3 separate regions of the Homo sapiens genome follow, and regions 2 and 3 are each linked to region 1. The links are contacts of gene promoters, found by promoter capture Hi-C in blood cells and fetal thymus (Javierre and others, 2016). All regions are on one chromosome and are shown on one strand. The core of a region is centred on a gene start or on the middle of the fragment in contact, and the rest is flanking DNA. Distances in the headings are between cores, read along the strand shown. Region 1 holds the start of CYRIB (CYFIP related Rac1 interactor B). Region 2 overlaps CYRIB (CYFIP related Rac1 interactor B). Region 3 overlaps ASAP1 (ArfGAP with SH3 domain, ankyrin repeat and PH domain 1).

Evidence for each region. Contacts are between HindIII fragments. The CHiCAGO score rates a contact against its expected background, and 5 or more counts as called.
Region 2: a contact is called between a fragment that was not itself captured here and the fragment with the promoter of CYRIB in region 1, in 14 of 17 cell types (total CD8 T cells, naive CD4 T cells, neutrophils and 11 more). The highest score is 16.7, in total CD8 T cells.
Region 3: a contact is called between a fragment that was not itself captured here and the fragment with the promoter of CYRIB in region 1, in 1 of 17 cell types (neutrophils). The highest score is 6.1, in neutrophils.

The regions. Positions count from the first base shown.
Region 1 is chr8:130,014,334-130,018,315 of GRCh38, reverse strand. It overlaps CYRIB (CYFIP related Rac1 interactor B), which reads left to right and starts at 1,756. Exons shown (of 14, transcript NM_001353258.2): 1 at 1,756-1,946. RefSeq lists silencers at 1,544-1,603, 1,654-1,723, 1,814-2,003, 2,194-2,463. The HindIII fragment of the contact is 5,812 bases long and covers 153-3,982 here.
Region 2 is chr8:129,908,863-129,912,844 of GRCh38, reverse strand. All of the region lies in intron 2 of CYRIB (CYFIP related Rac1 interactor B), which reads left to right. Among named protein-coding and RNA genes, the nearest start is that of MIR5194, 98 kb to the left of the region's middle. The HindIII fragment of the contact is 2,805 bases long and covers 658-3,462 here.
Region 3 is chr8:130,121,645-130,125,626 of GRCh38, reverse strand. It overlaps ASAP1 (ArfGAP with SH3 domain, ankyrin repeat and PH domain 1), which reads left to right. Exons shown (of 30, transcript NM_018482.4): 18 at 1,523-1,614. Among named protein-coding and RNA genes, the nearest start is that of ASAP1-IT2, 39 kb to the right of the region's middle. The HindIII fragment of the contact is 6,155 bases long and covers 1-3,982 here.

The sequences.
Region 1 (3,982 bases), core at 507-3,006:
TCAGCTCTGCCTGCTTCCAAACCCTTTTCCTGCTTCTCCTCAAGGTCATAGTTCAGGACCCAGTGTTTCCCCACCTACTTCTCAGCCCCCACAGCAAGGTGGACATTAGTTCCCTTCCTTTAGGAATGAAGGCACTGGCGCTCGGGTAAGCTTAGAGAGCAGTCCAGGGAGTACTGCTGAAATGGCACCATCTCAGGGTCCCCAGCTCCGAGAACTGGGCCTGGCCAAGAGAAGGCGCAAGGCACCTTTGTTAAAGAATTGGCGGGCTGGGTGTGGTGGTTTATGCCTGTAATCCCCACACTTTGGGAGGCGGAGGCAGGGAGGATCCCTTGAGCCCAGGAGAAACAGGCCAGCCAGGGCAACACAGGGAGACCCACCTCTACAAAAATCTATAAAAATTAGCTGAGCATGGTGGTGCATACCCGTGGTCCCAGCAACTCGGGAGGCTGAGGTGGGAGGATCGCTTGAGCCCAGGAATTTGAGGCTGCAGTGAGCTATCGCATCACTGCGCTACCTAGCCTGGGAAACAGAGCAAAATCCTGTCTTAGACAAAAAAAAAAAAAAGAAAGAAAAAAGAAAAGAAATGGAACAACTGGCTCCTAATCAGGTAACTCAGCACTGAGTATGATGTGAGCACACTCCAACCCCCCTATAGCTGGAGGTGGAGGTGGAAAGACAATGGAAGCCTTTGATGTAACCCTTTTGATACCCTGCTAGAGGACAGCAGAAAGATACTTGAGAGAATGTTGTCTATCTTCCCGAGAAATTTCTGGTTGAATGTCAAGATAATGATAGGATGGGCTTCTGGGCCAGGGGAGCAAGGCAGAGGGAAGGAGAGTATCAGTTTCCTAGGCATGTCCTGTTACAGGGAGAAAAACACAGTATTTTCCATTCTAGATCAGGGGAAAGATGAGGTCTCCCATAATACCTGAAACTGGAATTATGGCGAGGAGCTTTTTATGTGGGAATTTCTGTACTAAATTTAAAGTCCTTGGAGAACCGCTTAGGGTAGCACCGACAGCCCGCACCGTCCCCTCACCCCGCTTTATTTTTCCTCTGGCACAGCACTTAGCACCATAGGACCCATCAGATATTTACGGCCTGTCCCCGCTGCCCCTCCCGGGCAGGGATTTTGTTTTGGTTCGCAGCTGCAGCTCCAGGGCCTAGAACAGCCCGGGCACTTAGTAGGCCCAGTAAGTATCTGCGGGAGGGCTGAATGGGTGCGTGGACAGCATTCCTCTCACTGACCCCGCTGCGAGGTGAGCCAGGCAGGGGCTGTCACCATTCCTGAAGTCCAGGTGAGGGGGAAGCGACCCAGGGATGGGAACCTGGCCGGCCTGAAGGTCTGGAGACCGGGGTTCGAGCCCAAGCCCTGCCTGACAGGCAGTGACCTTGGGGGTCACTCTTGCGCCTCTCGGAGCCGGGTTTCCTCCTCGCACAATGAGGGCGATGACCCCCAATCGCAGCGCGCCCCGCGGTGACTTGCCCAAGGTCACCACCGTCCCGGGCCCGTGGCGCCCCGGCTCGGGAGGACACGGGCCAGGCGGGCGCGGGGTTCTGGGGTGGGGGCCGGCGCGGGGCGGTCCCGGGGCGCGGCGCGCGCTGACGCCGGGGCCCCGCGATGCGGCGGGGACTGGGCGCGGGGGGAGGCGCGTCGCGAGGCGAGCGTCCTCCTTTTGTGCGAGCGCCGGCGGCTCGGCTTCTCGAAGGTAAACAGCGCTTCCTCTTCCTCCTCGCCGCGCCTCTTCCTTTTATAGTTATTTCTCGCCTGGCACTCGCCCGGGCTGCTGCTGCTGCTGCTGCTGCCGCCGCGGCGGGGGCAGCTCGCAAACCTGTGGCGGTGACGTGAGCCCCGCCAACCCGGAAACGGCGGCGGCGGCGGCACCGGAGGCTCCGAGGCTCCTGCGCTCCCGCGCCGCGCTCCCCTCGCCCGCCCGGGCCGCCAGGTACGTGCCGGGGCTCTGAAGGCGCCGCCGCCCGGCCGGCCCGCGCGCGCGCCCCTGGATCCGATTTGCCCCCGGAGAGGGCGCGGGGTGCGGGGCGCGCGCGTGATGGGTGCGGGGAGAGGCGGAGGTACCATCCGGGCCGCCGGGCCGGGCGCTGCGGCGGGTGGACAGGGGGCGCCGCCGTGGTGGGGGCGTCCGGGCCGGCGGGCGCGGGGGTCCCGGGGGAGGCGCCTCGAGTGCGCGGGGGGCGGCGGGCGGACGCGAGGGGAGCGCGCAGCGGGGCCGCCGCCCGGGTCCACCCAGCTGCGGAGCCGGCGCCTTGTGCGCCTCGAGGCAGGGGGCGCTCGGGTCGGGGTGGCTGGTCCCTGGCAGACCCTTCCTGCGAGCCGGGTGTCGGTGCGGGGACTGACCCCGGGAGCAGCGCTGGCCCCCGGCCACCTCCCATCAGGGGCTTGGAAGACCAGTCGCATTGGATTTGAGGAACTAGAGGGGGTGAACAAAATCTCCACTGGCCTCAAGACTTCCTCCTGGGGTAGCCACCCGCCTGTGTTTAAAGAGCACTTCCTCTTCGCCTTTTATCTTTTCATTATCTTTCTTTTTAAATGGAAGTTCAGTGTTAGCGGGTGGGTGCCCTTGCAGCCTGCAGGGCTTTCCTGGGGCTGTGTACACACACACTGGGGTTGGGAAAAACCTGTGTGTCCTTTGAAACGTGTGTCCTGTGTCAGGAGTGGAACGAAGGAGGAATCGAGGTCTTACCATGCTGGAGCTACTTGGAGTGTGCCTTTGCTACCCACCCTGCTGCAAGAGGTGGAGGGGTGCGGAGGGATAGAGCTGGGGCTGCGGGGGAGTGTCACATGCACTTTGCAGCTATGTTTAATTCCTGGCCCTGCCGCTTACTAGCTGTGTGACCTTGGGCAAGTCGCTTACCCTCTCTGAGTCTTAGGGTCCCGTCTGTGAAATGGGCTGCTGCGAGTGGGGCCTTGAGAAAACGAGCGTAGATTTCCTGGCCTGCAGGGGGCGCAGTGATAGAAAGTGTCATTGCCAGTCACCTTGAATTTCTGCATCCCCAGCACCTAGAAAGGGTGCGTTGAAGCACGTGGGAAGCACCCCATAGATAATTGTGAGATGAACGAGTGGGTGGTGAATTTTGAGAGGTGAGTCGGTGTGCTTCCACATTTTGGCTTCCTTGCCCTGTAACATCCATCCAGGATCTCCAGGGAGCAATTTTGCTATCTGGGTTGGATGGACTCCTCCCCTCTCTGAGGAAGACCATCTTGTGAAAATACTGACTCCCTTGTGAAAAAGGGCTTAAACTCTGACTTTGAGACTCTCCCATTCTTGGAAGATTGCACTGGGGGAAAAATAAAAAGAAGGCGTCATTTTGATTGCCACCGCCAGGTGACTGGCTGAGGCCAACAGCCAAGACTGAGCCAGGGCTGACGTCTGGGATGGTTTCCCAGGCCTGGGGTTCCTGTAATGTGGGGGAAGCCCGGAAGAGGTGACTTTTCTACCTTGGTCGGCATGCAGAAGTGGTCAGCTGGCCTGAGTTTTCTTCCTGAGGAGGCACATTGGAATTTGCACTCTAGATCCTTGCTGGGCTCACAGCACGGAGAAGGGCAGAGTGTGTGATGCAGGAGGCTGAAGTGGGTTCCAGCACAGGGAGACTTGGAAATGGTTTTCAGATAAAGGCCAATATATGTTTCTGCCCTTCACTTTGGGAGATTTTCAAGTAATTTTGCTGTCTCTGACAGCCACCCCTTCTCCTTTCTCAGCTCCCAAAGTCTTCTGTGTGCCTCTCTTAGGATCCTTAGCTATGTGGGTCCCCCAACTCCCGACCCCCGTAAGTGCTACTATTATTTTTAAGAGACAGTGCAGACCCTTCTGTGCAGCAGCGTGCTGCAGTTTGAGCATGTGCAGATTCATTTTGTTTGTGTTTTGACAGGGTCTCACGCATTGCTGAGGTTGAAGTAGTGCAGAAGTAGCGTGATCATGTCTTACTGCAACCTTGACCTCTCAGGCTCAAGCCATCCTCCTAC
Region 2 (3,982 bases), core at 811-3,310, 110 kb after region 1:
AAACATGACACACAGATTAGGAATTCACTGAATCATTTTACCTGAACCACTCTTTAATATGCCTTCATTAGTTCATCCTGTTGATTATCATATAGAATTGTTTGAAAAAAAAATGACTTGCAAGAAAAGAAAGCCCCAGCCTGGGCATCCTAATAAGACCCTGTCTCTAAAATAAAAAAATAAAAATAAAGGCAAATTTAAAAAACCCAAGTCTTTGTTTTCATTGAAATGCACCTTCTCTGTTCCCAGTCCTCCCCTTCCCCCAACCCCAGAGTGCATCTGTGCATCTTTTGAGGTAATTATATGGCTTTTTTCTTTTAATCTGTTAGGGTGGTGAAAACAGTAGGTATTCTGAACCAACCTTGCACTTCTCAGGTAAGCCAAACTTGGTCATAATTAAAAAAAAAAAAAAACTTTGTAATTTCAGATAACTGCAGCATTGGACTAGAGGTGGAGAGAGTGGTACTGGGGGAGTGGTGAAGCAGGTGAGAAGCTGGAAGGAATGGTCATTTCAGTGCTAGTGCAGTTTGCAACTTCAGATAATTTTGGAGCATATATATATATATTTAGCAGGATGTATAAATTCAACTATTTGATCTTTTATGAAATCGAACCTGGGGTAAATTTGGAGCGTGTATATATATAAACTGTAAAGCTTTATTTGCCTTATGTTATTACCTCTGTTTGTATTTACCATTCCTTTAAAATTATGTGTGTAAATGTTATAAGGGGGTTTGAACATGTGGGGTAGATTAAATGAACACTAAAAATTCTTTCTTTTAACTAGCATTTAATTTTACAGAGTTTGAGCTTATAGAGCTGCAAAATAAGGTACTTACTTGTTTTCACAGAACGTATCTTAAACCTGTGGAATCTTTAGGTTAGCACGATTGCAGCACCTGCCATCAAAAATGCATTTTACAGTCTCTCCATGGCTGTATGTTCCAAAACTTAGCTGAGTTGAAGTATCAGAAAAGTCCCATTGTAGATGGTCAGTAATCAGGGCAAGATATTGACAGTAACCAGGAGATCCAGAAGTAAGAAGGTTCTGTATAATGTCCTCAAAGCCTGGTGAGCCTTTTAATTTAGCCCTTGCCTCAGGTTTTTCATAATTGAAAACAGCATTATTGCTGTTGTAGGTTTTGTTTGTTTTTATTTTTGTTTTTTTTTTGCACACCACCACAGTCGGGCTAATTTTTGTATTTTTAGGAGGGACAGGGTTTCACCATGTTGGTCAGGCTGGTCTTGAACCCCTGACCTCGTGATTCGCCCACCTTGGCCTCGCAAAGTGCTGGGATTACAGGTGTGAGCCACCGCGTCCGGCCGTGGGTTATTTTTTTAAAGAATCATTTTTAATTTTACAATAAAAGAAGTTAGTGGAAAAGTAGTATTTGTTTTACAAGAAATCACATCTACAGAAAGGAATATTATAATAAATATTGAACAAGATTGTTTCCTGAAAAGTAATTTTCTCCCTCTGTTCCCTTCCTCATTTCTGTCCCTTCCGCTCCTTTTCCCAATTCCTTACCCTCTAGTCATGACCTTGGACAAACTACTTAACCTTTTAAAGCCTCTGATTGCTCATCAATGAAAAGGGTTTAATTTTAACCTATTAGGTTCACAGGCTTATGTGAAATATATCATGCAGTACAGTGTCTAAAACATAGGAAGTACTTAGAAAAAGGCAGCTGAGTAGAAAGGGACAATTTTAAAAGACTGTACCTCACTTTATACATTTATATTGAGTATCTGATCAAGGAAGTTCAGATTTGATAGTTATTTCCTTAAAAATACATAAGGCCTTGATAGAAAATGGGAAGGACTAAGTTACACAATTGTGGAGGAAAAAATAGCTGGCCTCAGTAGTTAACAAAACAATGGGAGAGAGGCCGGGCAAGGTGGCTCATGCCTATAATTCCAGCGCTTTTGGAGGCCAAGGAGGGAGAACACCTTGAGGCCAGGAGTTCAAGGTTACAGTGAGCTATGATTGTACAACTGCATTCCAGCCTGGGCGACAGAGCGAGACCGTGTTTCTCTTGTTTGTTTTTAGAATTAGGGTCTTGCTCTGTTGCCCATGTTGGAGTGCAGTGGCACTCATAGCCCACTGTGGCCTTGAACTCTTGCGCTTAAGCCATCCTCTTGTCTCAGCCACACATGTAGCTGAGACGACAGTTGTATGTTACTAGACCTGGCTGTTCATTTTAATTTTTGTGTGTATATGGTCTTGCTATGTTGTCTTGTCTGTTCTCAAACTCCTGGTCTTAAGTGATCCTCCCACCTCAGCTTCCTGAAGCGTTGGAATTATAGGCAGGAACCATTGCACCTGGCCCTTGTCTCTTTAAAAAAAAAAAAAAAAAAAAAAAAAAAGTGAAAGAAGGCACCACTTGTCAAGGATGCTGTGAAGTTGGCCAGTGCATCATTCTGATGGTAGTGTTAATTAGAATGTATCTTTGGACAGCAATTTGGCACTAGGTATAAAGACCTTGATGTATCCTAAACATTTTTAAGTTATTTCAACAAAGATATATGTTCATAGCTAAGATAATTATTCAAGGTGTTCACATGGCCCTCTGCACAAGGGGTGCCACACCTGTGGGTGTATCAGACATGAGATAGACATGTCACTTTGAGAAGACCGTGGGTGAGTGAAGGGATTCTGGGCCTTCTGGCCACATCTTGGAGCCAGGAGTTCCAGGTTACAGTAAGTTGCCTGGTACATAAACCCATACTAGCACCTATGGCATGCGAAGACTCTGGAGAGCTCCTGTGAGGACACTCTGTCCATGCAGGTGGTTACAGCATGGTCTTGTCCAGACTGAGCTCCAGACTCCAGGCATCCCCTGAGGTGATGTCTTTCGCTAACTTGCCCACCACTCCAGTCTGACAGAAACTGATCTGGTAGTCTCATTTGAGAAATTTGGGGCAAGGGTGCCTGGCACTGGCTTAGGTATGTTTATGTGCCTTAATGTTCAGGGATTATGTTTGTCAGTAGGCAAGAGCGTGACCCTTGTGTGCAGGGGCATGTGTATGCACAGCCAGGGTGTTTGCTTGCTGGGGTTCTTAAACCCCAACCCAGGCAGAGCTATATTGTGTAGTTGTTGAGGTTGTGTAATAAAATAATAGTTCATAAACGTTTTTATATTAGACTGGGATAACTTCTTCTAATCTCACAAAGTCTTTATGTGCTTATGGAAGTCTTGGGCATATAGCATCGTTTAAAAGAGCAAAAGGTTAGAAAAACCTGAATGTCCAGCAGTGAGAAAATGCTTGAAAAAATGTGGTACAACCATATGATGAGTTGGTATGTAAAGACTAAAAGTGGTATTTTGGCAGAGTTTTTAATGATGTGAAAATATTGCTCATGATGTGAATGATAAAAAGCAGTACAAATACAAAGAAAGGGTGTTAAATTGTATAAAAATATACATAAAAGAAATTAGAAGAGAATAAATTGTTAAAGCTTTGGTTGTGGGATTATAGGTAGTGGTACTTGTTTCTTTCCACTTTCTTTATGTATTTTGTGTAGTGAGCATGTTTTACCCTTATAATAAAGGGGAAAATTAAGATTGTAAAAACTTTTTAGACTCTACAAAAATCAAGTCATGTTCTGAAAGCCTGGCATTACCTAGGCAACTGTTACTGCAATTTACTTTTTCCTGGAGGTAATTAAAAAAAAACTTTAGAGATAATTAGAAATGTTGGTATTTCAAATCTTCTGGAGCATGGGTTTACAATAGAGATTAAGAATTTCTTGGTCAGGCATGGTGGCTCATGCCTGTGATCCCAGCACTTTGCTAGGCTGAGATGGGGGGATTGCTTTAGGCTAGGAGTTCAAGACCAGCCTGGTCAACATAGCAAGACTCCATCTCTATTTTATTTAAAAACATTTTTTTAAAATCTTTATAAAAAAAGAATGTATTGATATTGTATTAATATTTAGTATTAATATTTGCGCAGTATTAAGATTTATATGTATCATATA
Region 3 (3,982 bases), core at 785-3,284, 110 kb before region 1:
TCACATTACCTCATGGCTTCTGTTGTAAATAATGACTAAAGAGTTTATCTCAATTTTTTTTTATTATTTCTAAGTTTGTAAAAGTACACATGAATTACAAGTGGCTTGTTAACTATTGTCATAAAACCAACTACTCTTGAACCCATAACTTCTTTAGGTAGTAAGGGAAGAAATTGTGAGAAGTTGTGGTGCTTAGCTTCTTAATCCAAAAAAGGGGTTATGTACACTTAAACTTGTTTTCCTTTAACCTCTGCCCTTCCCATCATGAGTCACCCAGATTTGGAGTTGTCATCAGGTCCAAATTGCTCCCCGAGATATACCAAAATACAGAAGGGGAGCCTACTTGGCATCCCCCAAGTAGGATGCCTACTGGACAAATGCCCCATTTTGCATAATTTTAACACCTGGTGCACTGTGAGAGAGTCTTTGTACTAAGAGTGAAATTTTTAAAATAAAGTATGACTTCTCAGACAGGAGGCTCACCCTTGAGCAGAACCTGAATGAACCTGGGCTCAAAAAAAAGCTGAAAGTCTAGCTTATCATTAGCCTTAACCAAAAAGGGCAGTTAGTGACCCAGCCAGCAGCCCTGGTCATCTGAGCGTTCACTAAGCAATCGTGATCTGTCTTGTGTTCTATGCACAATACAAGACATTCCTTCTAATTTAGAATGTAGGAAGTTACCATGCTGATACTCGGCTCCCTAGTTCACTTCAGGATTGTAGAGAAAAGACACAGACCTATTACCTGTAACACATTCTTTAGTGCAGAAATGATGTCCCTCATCTCCTTGACCTGTATTAATGAAACCCAGTTTGACAACAAGAAAGAGGAAAGTCCAAATCCTAAACGTTTGCCATGCAATAAACCCAAGACTTTTTCCCTCAAAGACATGGTTGCATGTATGTTTCTTAAACTTTGCATCCCAAAATTACATAAAATGATTAGAGGCCCTTCAGAACAAATTTTCTTAGAATGCTCTTGAACCCAGAAGCAAAATGGTTCCTGGGTCCTCTGCTGCCTGCAGCATCTTAATCTGTATCCAGATATAAAGTAATCCTGTGTCCTTTTCTGTCCTGGGAGTAAATTTGTTCAATATAAAAAGGAAACATGATGGTGGTTGATAAGCTATTGCTGTTTATTAAAAGTTTAACCTAGACTCACATATGGAGCCTGCTCTCTGTAATCTCATATAGTTTATATGTGTGTAGAACCAGATTCTGTTCTAGCATTTATCACATATTTGTAGACATGATTGATTTCCTTGTCAATGGCCCCACTAGACTATGAGCATCTATGGAAAGGGAACATAGTTTACCCATCTCTGTATTTCCAGCACTTAGTTTGGTGCTTGGCACGTAGTAGATGCTCAGTAAATATTTGTAGACCAGATGGACGGTGGTTTGTATTCTAAGTCAAATGAGGGAAAATACATATTCATAAATCTCAAAAACAAATAATAGGAGACTTTTAACTAGTAGCAAAGAGTTTGCTATATTGTGGTTGTTTGTTTTTTCTGTTACAGCTGGCCAAGAATGTAGGAAACAATAGTTTTAATGATATTATGGAAGCAAATTTACCCAGCCCCTCACCAAAACCCACCCCTTCAAGTGATATGTAAGTATTTCTGATATATTGAACTTTTTTAAACCATTCTATAATTGTTTTTCTACCCTTCCAAAAAACTTCTTTTTTTTTTTTTGGCTGGGTGCAGTGGCTCACGCCTGTAATCCCAGCACTTTGGGAGGCTGAGGCAAACGGATCACGAGGTCAGGAGATCAAGACCATCCTGGCTAACACGGTGAAACCCGTCTCTATTAAAAATTTTTTAAAAATTAGCCGGGCGTGGTGGCAGGCACTTTGTAGTCCCAGCTACTCGGGAGGCTGAGGCAGGAGAATGGCATGAACCCGGGAGGCGGAGCTTGCAGTGAGCCGAGATCGCACCCCTGCACTCCAGCCTGGGCAACAGTGCGAGACCCCATCTCAAAAATAAAAGAAAGTCTTTAGTTTTTTACAGTGTTTGTTTGTTTGTTTGTTTGTTTTCCAGAGCAAACCCCATTGTCAGGGGAAAGCAGAACAAAGAAAAGTATTTAGAAATGTATTTCCGGGATGCACAGATTCTTTTCACCCTCACCTTCCCCTAGGTTGTTGCAGCTGCGCACCTGCTCTGTGAAGCACAGATTGTCATGGGGGCAGTTCTCTCAAAAACATGGCATATTGTGATGAGTAAGAGACATTCAAAGACAATGGGAGATTCCTTTTAGCCTGGCAAAAATCCAAATGCTTAAAAACCCACTCAGCAAGACTGTGGGGAAACTGACATTCTGTCTCATAATATTGCCAGTGGGAGTACAAAATGGTACACTATGAAAAACAAATTAACCATATTTACCAAAATTATAAATGTACTTACCCTTTGACTCAGCAGTCCCACTCCTGGGAATTTATTCCTATTCTGTAATGCAAAAAGATTAGGAACAAAACAAGTATCCATCTGTAGGCATCTGATGAAATACTCTATGGTAGAGCCACACAACAGAACACTATGCAGATGGAAAAAAAAAGCACAAATTACACTGAAAAGGCTTTTCAAAAGTTAATTTGATTGTAAAACTACCATGAACAAATAAGACCTAAGTTTTACTTTACCAGCTTGATAACAGCAAGTGCTCAAGCACATACACAGTGCACTCTTGTCCACACCAGCATTTTTTAAATGTTTGCATGACCCAAACCTTGAAGGCACAGCTGCCAGATGAATGTCATAACAACATGGGTTTTTATGTCCTGTTTCTCATGTGGGAAGCAGCATCAGCGCCACCTGGTCAGCTTTGTGCCTCATCTAGTCATTTGGCCTCTGTAAGACTTTCACCTTCAAAATGTCTGTGATTCTCCAATATCTCTAATGTAGTGGTTAGGGTCATAGATTTTGAAGCCAGACTGCTGGAGTTCATATCATAGCTCTGCCACTTCCTAAACTATGTGACCTTGGACAAGTAACTTTAATTGTCTGTGCCTTAGTTTCCTCATCCAGAACATATATCTACCTCATAGGGTTGTGGTGACAATTAAGGGGCTTGAATAAAAAGTGCTTGGAGCAGCATTTGGTCTATAGTTAGTGCTGTATAAGTATCTGTTATTATTATTATTGGTCTGTAGTAAGTGCTGTATAAGTATTTACTACTACTACTATTATTACTTCCTTGTTTGGCCAGTGACCCAGAAGCATAAAGTGAACCTCTTGTAACATGCAGTTTGATCACTCATTTAGTTGTTGATCAAATCCTTACGAGGCAGCTTCCCTACTTCAGCCAGTCTTGTAGGTGCTGAAGATACAGTAGCAAACAAGACAGAGTTTCTGTCCTGCTTACATTCTGAGGAGATGAAAACACAGGGAATTAAAAAGTCAGTCATACAATTACACATTGTATTAGGTGTTATGAAGAAATTACAACAAGAGGAGGTGTTGAAGTGTGTGGGGAATGGGGAGAGGGTATTTTTTTCAAGTTGAAGGTGGGGAAAGTGCAGAATTGAGGGGCATGAAGGCACCCTCCCTGGGGGGAAGCAGCCAGGCAGCTGGAACAGGTCATATGGGTGCCCCAAGGGGCAGTAAGGCATATTTGAGCTATGTCATGAAGGAAGATGTGGCGGGAGAGAACTGAGCAAGAGGGAGATGCAGGGGAATGCTGGGCAAGATAGAGGTGGAGCCAGATCGTGTAGGTCATGGACTGCCTGGGGATTTGATTGTAAGTGTGATTGAGAGGTTTTAAACAGGAGTGGCGTGATCTGAGTTATTTTCTAAATTGATCGTATGTTCTTTTTTTTTTTTTTTTTTTTTTTTTTTTGAGATGGAATTTCACTCTCATAGCCTAGGCTGGAGTGCAGTGATGCGATCTTTGCTCACTGCAACCTCCACCTCCCGGGTTCAAGTGATTCTCCTGTCGCAGCCTCCCGAATAGCTGGGATTACAGGCATGCGCCACTAT